Regions from separate parts of the Homo sapiens genome. Here region 1 is linked to region 2. Evidence: promoter capture Hi-C in 16 types of primary human blood cells and fetal thymus (Javierre and others, 2016). All regions are on one chromosome and are shown on one strand. Each heading gives the region's core, a stretch centred on a gene start or on the middle of the fragment in contact. The rest is flanking DNA. Distances are from core to core; before and after follow the strand shown.

What was found. The method cuts DNA at HindIII sites, captures the fragments that hold promoters and counts their contacts. A CHiCAGO score of 5 or more calls a contact.
Region 1: a contact is called between a fragment that was not itself captured here and the fragment with the promoter of PLIN1 in region 2, in 1 of 17 cell types (megakaryocytes). The highest score is 5.9, in megakaryocytes.

Annotation. Positions count from the first base shown.
Region 1 is chr15:89,871,623-89,876,524 of GRCh38, forward strand. All of the region lies in intron 7 of ARPIN-AP3S2 (ARPIN-AP3S2 readthrough), which reads right to left. The region is part of intron 3 of AP3S2 (adaptor related protein complex 3 subunit sigma 2); the gene reads right to left. Among named protein-coding and RNA genes, the nearest start is that of MIR5009, 10 kb to the right of the region's middle. The HindIII fragment of the contact is 653 bases long and covers 2,840-3,492 here.
Region 2 is chr15:89,676,298-89,681,405 of GRCh38, forward strand. It overlaps PLIN1 (perilipin 1), which reads right to left and starts at 3,070. Exons shown (of 9, transcript NM_002666.5): 1 at 2,954-3,070; 2 at 1,148-1,206. The coding sequence starts at 1,192. The HindIII fragment of the contact is 7,659 bases long and covers 1-5,108 here.

The DNA of each region.
Region 1 (4,902 bases), core at 1,916-4,415, 200 kb after region 2:
TAAAAGGGGCTGTCACAATACTATTTACTTTATGATAAATCTCAAAAATTAAAACACCTACCTTTTGTCTCCAGCATTAGCTGATCACCCTACTTATCTCGATTTAGAGGGAATAATCTAGGACAGGAAAACCTTGTTTTCAGCATAGCAACACAACCAGCAGACACATGTGGCTCTTTCCCCCTTTATAAGATGCTAATTTATGGTAGGGCATGGTGGCTCATACTTACAATCTCAGCACTTTGAGAGCCCAAGGCAGGAGGATCACTTGAGGCCAAGAGCTCACGACCAGCCTTGCTAACAAGACGAAAACCCATCTCTACTAAAAATACAAAAATTATCTGGGTGTGGCGACACGAGCCTGTTATAGTCCCAGCTACTTGGGAGGCTGAGGCACGAGAATAGCTTGAATGAGAATCATTTGAGGTGGAGGTTGCCATAAGCAGAGATCGCACCACTGCACTCCAGCCTGAGTGACAGAGTGAGAGTCTCTCAAAAAAAAAAAAAGAAAAAAGAAAAAAAATTACATAAAAGAATAACAAATTAAAAAAACCAACTACTTACAATACTATGTCCTCAATGAATACATGTACAAAAAATTTTTCATTATTACAGGGTTAACATAGCTGTGTTTTAATTTCAGCCAAAATTAACTTCAAAACATCTTCCCTTTTTAATTTTTTTGGTCAGTTATTTAGCCTACAAAATACCTTCCTATGAATAAATTTAATTGACGTGTTTACAACTTAAAATTTTTTTTTAAAAGCCCTGAGCTTACTTCTCTATAGAACCTTTTAACTTTTAATAAAACATAACAGAAAAGTGTACAAATGACAAGGGCACAGTTTAATGAATTTTCAGAATGAACACACCATGTAACTACAACCTAGGTATCTATCTATAACTGTTTAATTTCTCTCAGACAATGACCTCATTTAAACAATCTCATTGTCAGCAGTGTCATGAATTGTTCGGCACTGCATGAAAATGGGTCTTACTTGAGGCCAGCAAGTGACAGAGACCAGGCACACCGTTCCACTGTAGCACAAGATGGGTGCTCATAGGCAAACCACCCTGCAGCGGCTGCTGGGGAGACAGACCCACTTGCCATGAGGAACCAACGCACACTATTGGAGCTGATCCTGCTCTGTCTCTTCTCTATGTAAGTAAAGCTTTATCCAGTGTTTGCACTTTTTCCTTGCCGACTCTGATACCAAGATGCAATGGGCAAGAGCATTTAGATTCCTTTCTTGAGACTGGTAACCAGTGCACTGTATTTTGCCAGATACCAACCATTTTGGAAAACTATGACATTATGTATGCATGCTCTATGATCTAGGAATTCTACTCCCAGATAACATATCTAACAGATATATACATGTATGCCAAAAACCACATACAATAATTTCATATTAGTGCCATTCATAAATCTTTACATTTTTAACAGTGCCAGAATATTTCACTATAAGGACACATAGTTAAATGGGTCTATTTCTCAATCACTATGCTGGGTACTTGGTAAGCCCTTATAATCCTGCAGTTCAAGTCCTTCAGTTCTGGGAAATTTTATCGAATTATTTTGTTGAGAATTCCCTCCTTTCCACATTCCTAATCAATCTTTTTGGAGCTGCTTATATTCAAGTATTGGACCTCTGTCTGTCTTCTTTTTTTTTTTTTTTTGAGACAGACTCTCGCTCTGTTGTCCACGCTGAAGTGCAGTGCCACGATCTTGGCTCACTGCAGCCTCTGCCTCCTGGGTTCAAGCAATTCTCCTGCCTCAGCCTCCTGAGTAGCTGGGATTACAGGCATGCACCACCACGCCTGGCTAATTTTTGTATTTTTAGTAGAGACGAGGTTTCACCATGTTGGCCAGGCTGATATCCAATTCCTGACCTTAAGTGATCCCCCTGTCTTGGCCTACCAAAGTGCTGGGGTTACAGACGTGAGCCACTGTGCCCGGCCTCTGTCTTATTTTCTCATCTTTTCTCTCCCATTTTCCATCTCTGCCCATTCTGAGACAATTGATTAACTTGATTTTCTAATACTTCAGTTGAAGTGGGTTTTTGTTTGTTTCCATTTCCTCTCATTTTTTATTTCTAAGAGACCATTTTGTTCATTTTGTGTGAGCAACAAGGCTGTGAGTGTTTTTGTTTAGCACCCATTTAGCAATAAGACATAAATGGGTCTTATTTTATTTCTAATTAATAAATGGGTCTTATTATTATTTAAAATAAATGTCTTATTTCTCTGTGGCTTTTTTTTTTTTTTTTTTTTTTGAGACAAGGTCTCACTCTGTCACCCAGGCTGGAGTGCTGTGGTGTGATCTCAGAACACTGCAGCCTCAGCCTCCCGGGTGCAGGTGATTCTCCTGCCTCAGCCTCCTGAGCAGCTGGGACTACAGGTATGTGCCACCATGCCTGGCTAAAATACTTCGTATTTTTAGTAGAGATAGGGTTTCACCATGTTGGCCAGGCTTTCTCTGTAGCTTAAGAATAGGGTTTTGGGTTTTTTTTTTTTTTAAACTGTTTTCCTTTCTTTATATGGTGTCCATTTTTAAGTTGCTTTTTATTGTTTGTTCATTTTATCTCCTTCTTCTATGTTAGAGGTTTTCCGCAGATGTCTGATAATCCTTTGTTTTTCATTTGTTACAAGAATAAAAGGCTGATTGAAAGCTCTACAATCATGGATATTTCTTGCCCACCTCCATGGTTATTTGCTTCCCTAGCGAAATCTGTCTCACGTGTCCATGTGAAGAGACCACCAAACAGGCTTTGTGTGAGAAACAAGGCTGTTTATTTCACCTGGGTGCAGTCTTTCTAGGTATCAAAATTCATTGTAAAGCTTTGTTAACTAAAATAGTATAATACTAAGGCTGGGTGAGGTGGCTCATGCCTATAATCCCAACACTTTGGGCAGCCAAGACAGGAAGATCCCTCGAGCCCAGGAGTTTGAGACCAGCCTGGGCAACATAGCAAAACATCGTCTCCACAAAAAAATAAAAATAAAAAAATTAGCCAGGCATAGTGGCACACACCTGTAGTCCCAGCTACTTGGAAGGCTGAGGTGGGAGGATTGCTTGAGCCCAGGAATTCAAGGTTGCAGTGAATTATCATTGCACCACTGCATTCCAGCCTGAGTGACATACCAAGACCTTGTCTCTAAATAAATTTTAAAAATAAAATAAAAGTATAATTCTAAGATGGGAATATAGATCAGTGGGGCAGAATATAAATTACTGAAACATACATGTTTATAAAATGCAATTTTAAAAATAAGAGTCGTATTTTAAGTTGGTGGGGAAAAGACAAGCTAACTGATAATGTTGGAACAGTTATCCTTTGGGGGAAAAATAAAGTTACATATTTCAATGCAGACATAAAAATATCTAACAGATATTAATGAGCTAAATGTAAAAAAATAAATTAAAAAAGCAACGGCAGATCCCCTGGGTGCCATCCAGGCCCCCGGAAGGAGCTATTCAGTCTGTGGCAAAGCTTTGAGGTGGCTGGTACTGCTAAAAGCGGCACGTGGAGGTGCCCCCTAGCGGCCTGAGCTCTGTTCTGCGGCAGCCAGAGCACATGCGAGGAGAGCCAGACCACAGTTTGCAGCAGCACCATCCCAAAAGGCTGTTTTCATTAAAGATGTTTCATGAAACTAAGACTGGGTTCTCAAGATAGGGTAGTTATCCAGGACAAGATGGACTAGCCCCAGAAAAAGACATCCCCAGATAGTGGGTGGAAAAAGAACTGTCAGATGCATCTGTTTTTCTTACTCAAAATATTATTCAAGATCACAATCAAGGTCAAGAGAAAGAAAACAAGAAAGAAAACGAAGGACGAAAACACAAAGCGCATGCTGATGGGCAAAGAGGCTGAACTGAAGACATTGCAGACTCAGGTAGGAAAATAATAAGCCTATTTCATGATGAGGCAAGAAGACAGGAATCCTACAACAAATCCTCTAAGAAATACACTTCTGAGGAGCATAATGACAAAGAACATTATTCTGATAAAGGAAGAGAGGGACTAAATTCATCTGAAAATGGGCTGGGCGCAGTGACTCACGTCTGTAGTCTCAGTACTTCGGAAGGCCAAGGTGGGCAAATTGCTTGGGCTCACAAGTTTGAGACCAGCTTGAGCAACATGGCAAAGCCCTGTCTCTATAAAAAACACAAAAGTTAGCCAGGCGTGGTGGTGTGTGCCTGTGATTCCAGCTACTCGGGAGGCTGTGGTGAGAAGCTTGAGCCGGGGAGACAGAGGTTACAGTGAGCTGTGATTGTGCCACTGCACTCCAGCCTGGGCAACAGAGTGACATGCTGTCTCAATAAATAAATACATTCATCTGAAAATGATGAGGACAGACACAAACACAAAGAAAGCCATCAAGAAGCAGAAGTCACTCAAGATACAGGTCTCGTGAAAGGCATCATCGTAGTAGAGGGAAAAGAAGTAGTCTCAATCCAGAAGCAGAGAGAAGAACGATCATGATCTAGAAGCAGGAAAAGAAAACCATGGGCTGGACATGGTGCTTCACACCTGTAATCCCAGCACTTTGGGAGGCCAAGTCAGGCAGATCACCTGAGATTCAGGAGTTTGAGACCAACCTGGCCAACATGGCAAAACCCTGTCTCTACTAAAAATGCAAAAATTAGCCAGGCGTGGTGATGCATGTCTGAGGTCCCAGCTACTTGGGAGGCTGAGGCAGGAGAATCACTTGAACCCAGGAGGTGGAGGTTTCAGTGAGCTGAGGTCACACCACTGCACTCCAGCCTGGCCAACAGAGTGAGACGCCGTCTCCAAAAAGGAAAGAAAAAAAAAAGAAAGAAAGAAAACCATGGATCAGATCTTGCTCCTGTTCAAGATAAAAACTACATCTGTGTTGCGTGTGAAAAATAAGTAAATA
Region 2 (5,108 bases), core at 1,820-4,319:
AGTGCAGTGGCGCGATCTCAGCTCACTGCAAGCTCTGCCTCCTGGGTTCATGCCATTCTCCTGCCTCAGTCTCCCAAGTAGCTGGGACTACAGGCGCCCGCCACCATACCCCGCTGATTTTTTGTATTTTTAGTAGAGATGGGGTTTCACTGTGTTAGCCAGGATGGTCTTGATCTCCTGACCTTGTGAACCGCCCGCCTTGGCCTCCCAAAGTGCTGGGATTACAGGCGTGAGCCACTGCACCTGGCCAATATCTTAGTTTTTTATCCTGCAGGTGAATTTGAAATTTGAACTAGAAATAGACTATGACTATAAACAAGAAAACATTCTTTTTAACATTTTGGACGAGGCTTCAGAGGTTGTTTTACACAAAACCGAAGGAGGAAAGAGATCCTGGGAAGGGAATAAACCACCGTCTGTTAGAATGGCTTAACCATGTACTTGACCATTTTACGCCTCTCTCTGTTCTATGATTCAATACAAAACAAAGTGATTCCTAGTGCAGGAGTTAGTAAAAGCGTAACTTGGGCAAGGTGGATATTGCACAGGTTCATAATTTTTAAGTTTCACTATCCGAACTGTGCCCAAATCTGAGATGCCTTGCCAGGAGCCATCAAGCATCCCTAAAAGTATCAAATCACTTCAAGTCACAGTGAAAACCAGGTCAGAGATAGAACACCAGACACATGGAATATCCCACCCTTCCCCCCACACAGCAGCACAGGCTGTGCACCGTCTAACTCCGACAGGTGACATTTGCCGTTATGAATGATGCTGGAGACACAGAATACAGTGGCTCTGCACTGAATGCACATCCAGCTGGGTGGTGGACAGAGCATGGGCTTCTGCGTCAGGGTTTAAACAGTAGTTTCCTTCCTCTCCACTCCCCCCGTCCCTAAGCCAGGATTTCTGTCCCTTTTTTTCAAGGTGCTTAATTTTTAATAGGCATCTTTTTTTCCCCTCCCAGATCCTCCAACTGCCCCCTACAAAAGGTGGTGAGGGCAAGAATAACTAAGCCATGGTAGTCAATGAACTAGGATTATAATCTGGGAATATCTTGCTCTAAGTCCCCTGCATCTCCCCTCCCTGCTTCTTCCTCCTCCCTCAGTTGTCCATCCCCTGTCACAGATGAGCCCAAGTTACTTACAGGGAGGTCTCCATCCAGCAAGGTGAGGCCTTTGTTGACTGCCATCCTCGCTCCTCAAGCTGCAAAACAGAGTCCCAGGTCCCATCAGAAGCCCTCAGGCTTGAGCTCCACTGGGTCACTTCCCTACCTCTCATGGCCACCAACTAGGCCCAGGCTGCCTGGGGGCCCATTTGCCCTGAACAGAAGGCATTAGGTTGGAGGGTGAATATCACACACAATAGCCCCACTCCTTAGGGTCCCATAGCAATGAGTTGCTCCATAGCTTACTTGTCAAGACTGATGTTTCTTTCTTTTTCTTTTCTTTCTTTCTTTTTTTTTTTTTTTGAGATGGATTCTTGCTCTGTTGCCCAGGCTGGAGTGTAGTTGCACAATCTCGGCTCACTACAACCTCCGCCTCCCGGGTTCAAGGGATTCTCCTGCCTCAGCCTCCCAAGTAGCTGGGATTACAGGCGCCCACCACCACGCCCGGCTAGTTTTTTTTTTTTTTTCTGTTTAGTAGAGATGGGGTTTCACCATGTTGGCTAGGCTGGTGTCGAACTCCTGACCTCAAGTGATCCACCTGCCTAGACCTCCCAAAGTGCTGGGATTACAGGCATGAACCACCACACTGGCTAATTTTTGTATTTTTAGTAGAGATGGGGTTTCATCATGTTGGCCAGGCTGGTCTCGAACTCCTGGCCTCAAGTGATCTGCCCACCTTGGCCTCCCAAAGTGCTGTGATTACAGGCAAGAGCCACCATGCCCGGCCAAGAATAATGTTTCCTATAAGAGTTCAGGTTAAGAGGCCAGGCGCGGTGGCTCAGGCCTGTAATCCCGGCACTTTGGGAGTCCAAGGCAGGCAGATCACCTGAGTTCAGGAGTTCAAGACCAGCCTGGGCAACATGGTGAAACTCCGTCTCTGCTAAAAATACAAAAATTAGCCAGACGTGGTGGTGGGCAGCTGTAATCCCAGCTACTTGGGAGGCTGAGGCAGGAGGATCGCTTGAGCCTGAGAGGTGGAGGTTGCAGTGAGCTGAGATCCTGCCACTGCACTCCAGCCTGGGTGACAGAGGGAGACTCTGTCTCAAAAAAAAAAAGGAGTTCAGGTTAGGAAATAAAAAATGCAGGTAGCCATAAGAGATAAAAAGTTTTAGATAAAATCTTAAGGCTCTTAAATGAGGGTCCAAAAGAGACTAAAACAAGAAGTTTCAAGCTGGGTGCACTGGCAAGCACCTGTAATCCCAGCTACTGAGGCTGACATGGGAGAATTGCTTGAGCCCAGGAGTTTGAGATCAGCCTCGGCAATACAGTGAGATGCCCATCTCTAAAAAAATAAATAAACAAGTTAAAGGTTTCATCTTTGAAAAGGCTCTGGGTTAATTCCTCTATTTCTCTCTTTCTCTCTGTCTGTCCCTCTCCCCCTCTCCCTATCTGTTTTTTGAGACAGGGTCTCAATCTGTTGCCCAGGATGGAATGTGGTGGCACGATCATGGCTCAATGCAGCCTTGACCTCCTGGGATCAAGGTACCCTCCCACCTCAGCCTCTCATGTAGCTGGGACTACAGGCATGCACCACAATGCAGGGCTAATTTTTTCTCTTTTTTTATAGAGACAGGATCCCACTGTGTTGCCCAGGTTGTTCTTGAACTCCTGGGCTCAAGTGATCCACCTGCCTTGGCCACCTGCAGTGCTGGGATTAAAGGCATGATCCACTGTGCCTATCCAATTCCTCTATTTCTAGATTCTGGTATCTATACCAGAATCTCTCCCTCAGTAGTTTCCCTGCAGAGTTTTTCATCCCCAGCAAAATCCCCAAGAGGCCCTTACCTTCAACTTCTTCCCTTTAATGTTCATAAACAAGCCATGTAAGGCAGGTGCCCCAGGACCCCAACACTCACTCCGGCTGACCGCCACCTCAGTCTCACAGAGCCCAGGCTGCAGAGTGTCTCCTCAGGCAGAAACAATTCCTGTCACTCCTGGGAGGCTTGGGCAATGCTGCTTCCACCTCCCAGCTAGAGGAGGGCAGAGAGGGAGAGACAACAGGGTCAGCCAGTTGTCATGGTTATATGACCCAGGGTTCCCCAGGCATATCCTAACTTCTCTAAGGACATTTAGCAAACAAGGAGGTAGGTGGCAGAGCTGAAGGAGATCCAGGCTCAGAGGACTTAGTATTCCAGAGCCATGAAGCATCAGTTCTGTAATGTTCCTGCCCTCAATTCACAAAAATCTGCTTTCCAGAAAGAAGGTATAGGGATAGACATCATTAAACTCAAAAGCTCTAAAGTTCTATATACCTCTGCAATCTTTTGGCTCCTTTTCCATAGAGGGTCTTGTGGGAGTTTTCAATCCATTTCTCTCATCTTTTCTTATTTACTAGCAAGACTGAATGCTGAACAGTAAAATTTAAACCCACACAGAAGAGTTCATCTGAATGTATTCATCTTTGATTATGGAGATAAATTGCCCTCAGTGAAGAAGCGACAGAGCCGGGAGTTGAGTTTTTGACAATATAGCCTTTGAGTTGAGGGAGGAATTCCCACTTCTTAGAATTCAAAAAAATTTATTGAACTTTACCTGGCCTAAGATGCTACCAGAATGAAGAGTAGGAGAGCCAAGTAGATTTTTATTCTCCTGGGTCTGGATAAGCGACAGTGTTGACTAGGATTCTATCACTAATCAAGAGCACCCAGACAGCCAAGAATTAGCACCACTCAACCCTTCTTTACCCAGGACTCAAGCACAAGCCCAAGTTCTAGTTCCTGGCTTTAGATATGATGGAGGACTATGGTATAAGCCATAGCTTTCAGATTAACTAAGAAGGGCCTCTTCATGAAAACAGACAATAGGAAAACAAAACTTATTTTCTTTGTTGCTGGTGGAATTATATGTATTGTTGACTCTGTTAAGTCACACAGTGTGGGCAAGAGAAGAAAGAGGCAGGGGTGGGGAATTATGAAAGATCCTTGGTAATAAATTACGTATCTGTGATGCAATAAAGTAGGGAATGAGAAGGCAGGAAAGGGAGGAGTCAAGCAGGGAGGCTTCAAAGGAGTAATACGCTATACGTTTAATACTTATTGATCCAACCTGTGCTTTTCAAATGTAAGGCAGTAGAGAAGACAAAGTATTTAAAGAAGTGGCCTCTGCCCTCACCTCAAGGTTCAGCACAAATTATCTGTGAGGCTGTGACTGGACAGCAACCTGAGCCAAAGGGCAGTTTTCAGCCTTCAGAGTAGTGGCTTTGGGCCAGAGGGAACATAGGGCTTTGTGCCTGAAAGCTCTGCCAAATCAAATAGTCCTTTGGCTGCTTTAGCTGGGAGTGCAGAATGTGGGTGAGAGGTGAGAAGTGGTGAAAGGGCCTAGGAGAGTCCCGAGGGAAGACAGAAGTGTTAGTTTTCTAGCAGTAGCTTGCAGGGCATAGAGTTCTATCTTCTTTCCTTCTCCGTACCTACCTGCTTTCCCTACCCCTCCACCAAGTGAGAGCAGGGACCTAGGTCATCTTGCTCACAAGTGGATACCCAAAACCATGCATGGCACTCAAACATTCATTGTTGAATAAATGAATTGTCAGGCAACAATGCTCAGTTGTGAATGTGCTGGGCTGTACATCTACGAAGAACTTCTTCGATTTTTGGCATCCCTCATGAATGTGGAGGCTCTGGGGTGGAAAACATTAGTTACAAAGAAGGATTCACAGGGTGGTACCAGGACACCATTAAGGTTTACACAAACCTCTTAGAAGAGGTAGTATTTCCCAAACTCCCCACCACTCACCATTGCAGAGGACAAAAGTACCAAGATGGATACCACTGTAACATAACATACCACCATGAATTCAAGGCAGACTTACCTAGGCAGAAGCCAGCCAGCGATTGACAGGGCTACTGTAGAGCACCATCTCCATGGCAGCAGTCTAGATGAGTTCATTTCAGAGGTCCCTCTCAACCCAGAGGCTCTACATCTCAATCTTTCTCCATCCTCC